Regions from separate parts of the Homo sapiens genome. Here region 1 is linked to region 2. The links are contacts of gene promoters, found by promoter capture Hi-C in human tissues and cell types (Jung and others, 2019). All regions are on one chromosome and are shown on one strand. Each heading gives the region's core, a stretch centred on a gene start or on the middle of the fragment in contact. The rest is flanking DNA. Distances are from core to core; before and after follow the strand shown. Region 1 overlaps SECISBP2 (SECIS binding protein 2). Region 2 holds the start of SHC3 (SHC adaptor protein 3).

What was found. Contacts are between HindIII fragments. The study calls those that stand out against the background at their distance.
Region 1: a fragment that was not itself captured here is called in contact with the fragment with the promoter of SHC3 in region 2 in 1 of the 25 tissues and cell types used here (aorta).

Annotation. Positions count from the first base shown.
Region 1 is chr9:89,325,570-89,329,448 of GRCh38, forward strand. SECISBP2 (SECIS binding protein 2) reads left to right here. Exons shown (of 17, transcript NM_024077.5): 3 at 1-107; 4 at 328-469; 5 at 3,091-3,317. Among named protein-coding and RNA genes, the nearest start is that of SECISBP2, 9.0 kb to the left of the region's middle. The HindIII fragment of the contact is 3,215 bases long and covers 889-3,879 here.
Region 2 is chr9:89,177,545-89,181,478 of GRCh38, forward strand. It overlaps SHC3 (SHC adaptor protein 3), which reads right to left and starts at 1,274. Exons shown (of 12, transcript NM_016848.6): 1 at 443-1,274. The coding sequence starts at 916. The HindIII fragment of the contact is 9,677 bases long and covers 1-3,934 here.

The DNA of each region.
Region 1 (3,879 bases), core at 1,246-3,745, 150 kb after region 2:
CCCAGTATCTTTATAACCAACCCAGTTGTTACCGAGGTTTTCAAACAGTGAAGCATCGAAATGAGAACACATGCCCTCTCCCACAAGAAATGAAAGCTCTGTTTAAGGTGAGTAGTGATGTTGTTTTGTTGTGTCCTTTAGTTGGTTGCTTTAATGTTTAAAATGTAAAGAAATGGTAAATTTGTACATCATATTTAAGTATCATGTATTTTTTTGTATTTAACCTTTTAAAAAATGATTGAATTGTGAATACTTAATATTTTGCTGCTTTAAACCTTTTTTATAGTGGTGGTTTTATTTCATGTTGCTTTTTAATCTTTCCTGCAGAAGAAAACCTATGATGAGAAAAAAACGTATGATCAGCAAAAGTTTGACAGTGAAAGGGCTGATGGAACTATATCATCTGAGATAAAATCAGCTAGAGGTTCACATCATTTGTCCATTTACGCTGAGAATAGTTTGAAATCAGGTAAAAATAACCAACAATGTAGTATAATGCGAGCCTACTCCTTGTGCCCCAGAAACATTCCTGCTATGTATACAGCTGTTTCTATGGGCTTGTTCATTGTGACTACTCCAAGAAATGAGACCTGGGTCTGACACAGCTTAGGGCGTCAGACTTCCTGAGCAATTCTAGAGGTATTTCTTCCCAGGGATGGGATTATTATTTGGTACCTGTTGCATTGTGGGATCTTAAGTGCCTATAATTTGTATTATTTGGTATATACATTTTTCTCTTTTCATTGACTTCACTCATAAACCATCTGGTACAAGGGACGTTTATTAACTGTAGTAACTGTGGTCTTATAATTAAATGAGTGGCTTCATGTAGCTGCAGCCTACCTTATCCATTGCATTTCAGGAGAAAGATGGGGAAGAGGTTATGCGTTTTATGCTACCTGCTTCCCTCTAGTTTATTCCAGCAAACTGAAAGATGGAAAGTTTACTAGCACAGAAAATTCATTAGAGTCCCTTTAAATTTGCAATACAATAAAATGTCTAAAAAGAATAATTAAAATGCCCAGCTGCACAATCAGGTTAAGGTAACTATTTCATCAGCCTTAGAATTATAGTCATGCCTCACTTACTGATGGGGACACATTCTGAGAAATGTGCCCTTAGGTGATTTCGTCATTGTGGGAACATTTAGAGTGTACTTACACAGACCTAGATGGTATAGCCAACCACCTAGCTAGGCTATATGATATAGCCTGTTGTTCCTAGGTTATAAACCTTTAGACCATATTATTGTACTGAATATTGTAGGCAGTTGTAACATAGTGGTAAGTATTTGTGTATCAAAATATAGAAAAGGTACAGCGGTGGCTCACGCCTGTAATCCCAGCACTTTGGGAGTCCGAGACGGGCGGATCACGAGGTCAGGAGATCAAGATCATCCTGGCTAACACGGTGAAACCCCGTCTCAACTGAAAATACAAAATATTAGCCTGGCGTGGTGGCGGGCACCTGTAGTTCCAGCTACTCGGGAGGCTGAGGCAGGAGAATGGCATGAACCCGGGAGGCGGAGCTTGCAGTGAGCCGAGATCAAGCGTCCCTGCACTCCAGCCTGGGAGACAGAGCGAGACTCCGTCTCCAAAAAAAAAAAAAAGATATAAAATGTTTTACCCGTATAGGGCACTTACCATGAATGGAGCTGGCAGAACTGGAAGTTGCTCTGGGTGATTCGATGACTGAGTGGTGGGTGAATGTGAAGGCCTAGGGTGTTACTGTACACTGTTGGAGACGTTCTAAACATTGTACACTTAGGCTACATGAAATTTATAAAAGTATTTTTTTCAATAATTAACCTTAGCTTACTGTAACTTTTTTACTTTATACATTTTTAATTTTTCTAACTTTCTGACTCTTGTAATAACACTTACCTTTTGTAATAAAACACAAACATGCAGAAAAACCAAAAATACTTGGCTTGGACAAAAATATTTTCTTTCTTTACATCCTTACTCTATAAGCTTTTTTCTATTAATTTTTTTTTAACTTTCTACACTTTTTAATTAAAAACGAAGACACAACCACACACATTAGCCTAGGCCTGTACAGGGTCAGAATCATCTGTATCACTGTCTTCCACCTCCACATATTGTCCCACTGGAAGGTCTTCAGGGACAGTAACATGCGTGGAGCTGTCATCTCCTGTGATAACAATGCCTTATTCTGGAATCCCTCCTGAGGGACCTGCCTGAAGCTGCTTTATACTTAAGTTTTTCTTTTGTCGTTTTGTGTTTTTTTTTTTTTTTTGAGACAGAGTCTCACTGTGTTACACAGGCTGGAGTGCAGTGGCACTATTTTGGCTCACTGCAACCTCTGCCTCCCAAGTTCAAGCAATTCTTGTGCCTCAGCCTCCCAAGTAGCTAGGGGGCATGCGCCCCCACACCCAGCTAATTTTTGTATTTTCAATAGAGTTGGGGTTTTACCATGTTGGCCAGGCTGGTCTGGAACTCGTGGCTGCATCTGCCTGCCTCAGCCTCCCGAAGTGCTGGGATTAAGGCGTGAGCCACCTTGCCCTGGCCAAATTTTTCTTTTGTAAGTAGTGGGAGTATATACTCCAAAGATAAAAAGTATAATACATAAACAAGTGACATAGTTGTTTATTGTCATTACCGAGTATTATGTACAGTACATCATCGCATGTACTATACTTTTATATGCCTGTTAGCTCAGTAGGTTTGTTTACACTGGCATCACCACAAACGTGAGTAATCGCACCATGACATTACCAGTAGACAATAGGAATTTTTCAGCTTCATTACAATCTTATGGGGCTGTTGTATACGTAATCCATTGCTGATCAGACCATCATATGTGGCGCGTGACTATACATACTCCTAAATGTACAGTGCATTTTGGTTTTTCTGCATGATGGTCCAACCAGAGTGATTGATACTTATGGTCATTTAAACTTTATACTTTTACAAAGGAAGGTGAACAACACCGGTAAGAGTTACGGTGTTTTGACAACAACCTGTTGCATCAATAGCAATAGTCTTTGTACTCTGCAATTTTTGCTTGCATACTGGTCATCAAACAGTAACTAAATTTTTACTCTTACTTTTAATTTTGTAATTACAGATGGTTACCATAAGCGAACAGACAGGAAATCCAGAATCATTGCAAAAAATGTATCTACCTCCAAACCTGAGTTTGAATTTACCACACTGGACTTTCCTGAACTGCAAGGTGCAGAGAACAATATGTCAGAGATACAGAAGCAACCCAAGTGGGGACCTGTCCACTCTGTCTCTACCGACATTTCTCTTCTAAGAGAAGTAGTAAAACCAGCTGCAGTGTTATCAAAGGTGAGGTGAGGGTTTCTCTCTTTTTCTTTTTCCTTTGTACACTTTAAATTGTCTCATTTCAAACATTACACATTAAATCTTGCTGTGGGCTTTGATGTCCATGGAGCTGGGGAGGATGTATTGGGGGAAGCCTTTCATTGTGCACTTATATGACCTTCTTTGTTTGAACAGTTTATAATGAGGCTGTAACATCTAGTGCAGCTATTGTTTTATTTGTGCGTTTTGTTTTGTTTTGTTTTGTTTTTGAAACGGAGTCTCGCTCTGTCACCAGGCTGCAGTGCAGTGGCACGATCTCAGCTCACTGCAACCTCCGCCTCCCGGGTTCAAGCAATTCTCCTGCCTCAGCCTCTCGAGTAGCTGGGACTACGGGCGCACACTGCCACGCTGGCTAATTTTTTTTTTGTATTTTAGTAGAGACGGGATTTCACCATGTTGCCCAGGCTGGTCTTGAATTCCTGAGCTAAGGCAATCCGCCTGCCTGGGCCTCCCAAAGTGCTAGGATTACAGGCGTGAGCCACCCACGCCACTGTGCCCGGCTGTAGCTATTGTTTTAAAAGAATCA
Region 2 (3,934 bases), core at 24-2,523:
CCGCCGGGGAAGACACAGCAGGAGTAGGGCCGCCACTCCGTGCATCTCTCCTCCCGGGGGCTGCCCAGCTCTCCCCAGCGCGTTTCCTAGATACTAGGCAGGCCGGACCCCCGCTGCCCAGGGTTGGGCGCCCATGACACTGGTCAGACATCTGGTAAGCCAGGTGGCAAAGGCGTGCCAAAAAAGTGGAGCCTAGGGAAAACCGGGACGGAGCGGGCCACCCGAGTGGTAAACCTTTTCCCAATGGATGCGGGAAAAGCGCATTTGTAGTTCCCTCCTCACCGCTGTCAAGCGAGCTGATTGCTAAGGAGTGCGCATTTGCTTGCCTCTAACGTGACAGTCGCGGGAGCGCCCCGCACCCCGGGCTTCAGGGAATGAAGGAGTCTGCCCCGAACTGGCCCCAGAACCCCCAGCCCCCAGGGCGGCCCGCGCCCGCACCCACCTTGACCACGTAGGTGACTCCGGGCCCCAGCACCTGGTCGCTGGCGTGCGGCGCCCCCCGAGGGGGCCTGGGCAGCGGCTCGTCGCCGGGCCGGCCCTTCCTGGCGGCGCTCATGGCCGGGGCGCGGGGCGCCGAGGGCGCACTGCCGTCCGGGGCGGCCAGGCTGGGCGCGCTGCAGCTGCCCGAGAGCCGCGCGCCCGCCCGCTCCCGGGCGGCCGACGACAGGCCGCGGAGGCCCGAGCTGGAGAGTTTCAGGTGGGACACCTTGTGGAGCAGGTGGCCCAGGCTGCCGGGCCCATCGTCGGGCGCCTTGCGCAGCGCCTCGCCGGACACCAAGTAGGGAGCCGCCGCCGGGGTCGCGCGCGCCGCCGAAACCTTGCCTCCGCCGCCGCTCACCGACAGGCTGTGGAGAAGGTCATCGACCGATGTCACCGAGTCATTCCTGAAGCGGTTATACTTGGTGCGTGGAAGCATGCCCCTCCGTGGGCTCGCTGCATCCGCCCGGGCGCTGCTGGTGCCGGCCCCGGCGCGGGCTGCCGCGCATAGCAGGCGAGCCACTGTCCCCGGAGCGGGACGGAGAGTGGGGGCCCCGGGACAGCCTTCTGGAGAACGAGAGCAGAGCAAGAGGATGGTGCCCTCCCACCGTTAAAAGCCAGCACAGCGGCGGCCGCGCAGCCCCGGCCCGGGAGACCGCTGCTTGGGGTTGCACGTTTGCTTTGCAAAAGTCATAGTTGCCTCTGATGGAGCGCCCAGCTGCTTGGGGCTGCTCACAGCAAAAGCATGACTCACTCTGAGAGGAGACCCTTCTCAACAAAGGCTCGGTGAGCACTGCAAATCACTTCCTGTAGCAGAAGAAAAAAAAGGAAAAAAAGAAGAAAAAAACGACATCCACCCGCTGACAGCACACTATAGCCAATCAATTCTCAAATTTCCTTTTTCTACCTTCCCAGATATTTCCTTCCAACCTTTGATTTTTCACCTTCCCATCCCCCGCAATCTGCATTTGTGCCAAAGGTAAATCCAATCCAGTTCCTTCAAATCGTCAAATGAACTTTCTGAAACCCATTATTCTGTTAGGTTTTGCTCGTCCCTGCTCAGCCCATCTGTGTGAGCCTGTAAAAGTGTCTAACAGCGATGCGTTAAAATGTGACGAAGGCTTTTTAAGAATCAGATCTTCAGCGAATCCTGATGAATCTTGACTTGGAAGGCAGCAGGAATTTTTAAATAGAAAAAAACAAAAAGGATATTCACCCCCAGGTGACTGTAAAATACCAATTTCCTGGGTTTTGCTTTTTCTTTTCAAATTAACAGAGCAGCGATGACAAGTGTCTTTGTGGCAATGCAGTTCCTCAAAAAAAAAAAAAAAAAAAAATCTGCATATGAACTTCTGCACAGTGCCAATCAAGGGGTCTTCCCTGCTCATTTACAGCAGTCTTTCTCAGCCAGGGTTAAGTTGAATATCCACTTCCAAAAAAGAAGAGTGCTTCTTTCACGAGTGGCAACAGGCTCCAGAAATCCATTCCAAAAAAGGGGCTGCATTTGAAGCTTTAATCCTACTGAATGTGTTTAAGCTCTGGAAAAACGCCTAAGAAATGCTACAAATACATTTCAATGTTCCTTCAGTTGCTGCTTGCAACCCTGCAGTCAGGAAGGAAAAAATGCAGCTGTTCTTATTGCACATCAAATCCACAAGGAGGAAAATATGCCTTCTTTTCAGGAGTCAGGCTCGGGCTTGCAAGTAAAATGCACAGGCCTTCTTCCTCTCAGTTAGGAGAGCAAGGCTTTCGCTGTCCCCAGAGGTCTGCCCGAGACTGAAGCCCTCTGACTCTTGACCTCAGTGGGCTCTGCCAGGCTTCCTCATGCATTAGGATCACCTGCTCCACAGTGAAACACTCACTATCAAAGTTTTCCCGCAACTTCTGAGCAAGCGAATAAATTCAGCTCTAGCACACTCTCAGGTCACCCTGAGTCCTCTCACTCCCATGACCGAACATGTGGGGCACGTGAGGTCCTGAGTCTTGAACCCTGCTCTATGGAGCAGAGTTTAATGAGCGCCACTCATGGCGGGCGAGCGGGTGAGGCCAACCCCTAGGACGCAAGAGCGCAGAGGAGCCGCGGCGTCCCCGGTACAGGAAACGCGTCCCCACGGCTCGCCTCCTGTGCCGCAGCCCTAGCAGAACAGCTACACGGCACTCATTTGTTCCCTTTCCCTAGCTTGCATAGCAACAGCAATTGCACACCCCATAGATGATTTTGATGGTTATCAGAGTCCTCCCCAGATCTGTAGCGAAACAGCCCTATCATTCCCAAAGCGAGATCTTCATTAGATGCAGACAAAAACCGCAAAATGTGAATGAAATGCTGTTTGTGTGAATGAAAAGGCTAGCGAGCGAGCCAGCGTTTCTGTGAATGAAGCAGGGCCTTGCAGCCGGTGCCAGGCAATCCCCTGGGCTCCAGCGGCCTCAGCCAATGAGCGGCCGCCCCGATGACTCATTCAACAAAGGCTTGCTCAATAGTGGAAGATTCCATTTCAATCAAAGGCGGGATCTTTTATCCAACGGCAGTGTGGGAAAAAAAAAAAGAAAAAGAAAAAAAAACACCCAGCCGGATTACAAAGATACCGGGAGGAAGAGGCCAGCTGCTATGGAGAGGAAAAGCTAGTTTTACAAGGGAATTCAAGATCCCTTGGTCAGGTCTAAGTGTGAAGAGGGTCTCTCTTGGAGGTGAGCTGTGCCCCTAAACTTTCATTCAGCCGTTCATTTACATCAAGGAGCAACCATGAATGTGCCAGTCGTTCAGCTTTTATTATGAATGTACATTGAATGCACGTTCAAAACCTAGGTTCCTAGCCCTTGATTCTTTTTTTGTAAAAGGCATGTAGGACACCTGTACACGTTCTGAGGCTCCAGGGAGGAAAAAAAATCCAAAGCTATGTACTTAACGTTTAGCCAACAGGAGACTTTTATTTCTTTTATTATGAGGCCAGTGGAGGGAAATTGGTCATTTTAAAATATAAATAGCAACATAAATTTACTATATATGAAAAGATATATAATCAAAGACAGAAATTAATATTCCAAGAACACAGTAGTACGGTAAAACCTCACTTACCTGGAAAATAGTATCAACATTTTGGAACGTAGCAGAAAGATGGAAAAAGAAAAACCCGAAGGCCTCTCAGCATCAAAAGGAGGCTGTGCAGCCCACACAGAAGCTCACACACCCTACTCATGAGAAAACCCTTTGCCCTTTCTGGGGAGCTGTTCATGTTTATTTTAGACCCTGTACCAGAAAGCCCACATATCTTCTTGATCAACATAGAGACAGATGAGAGAGGAGACCACTGGGACAGAAAATGCTAAATGTAAATGAAATTTTCTGTTGCTGGCTTGCTTGATAGCCATGGAAGGAAGCAGGAAAAAAAAACTCCATTTTAAAGTCAGCCTTGAGATTCACCAAAGCCAGGCAGTCTGGGGCAATTTACAATGAGAG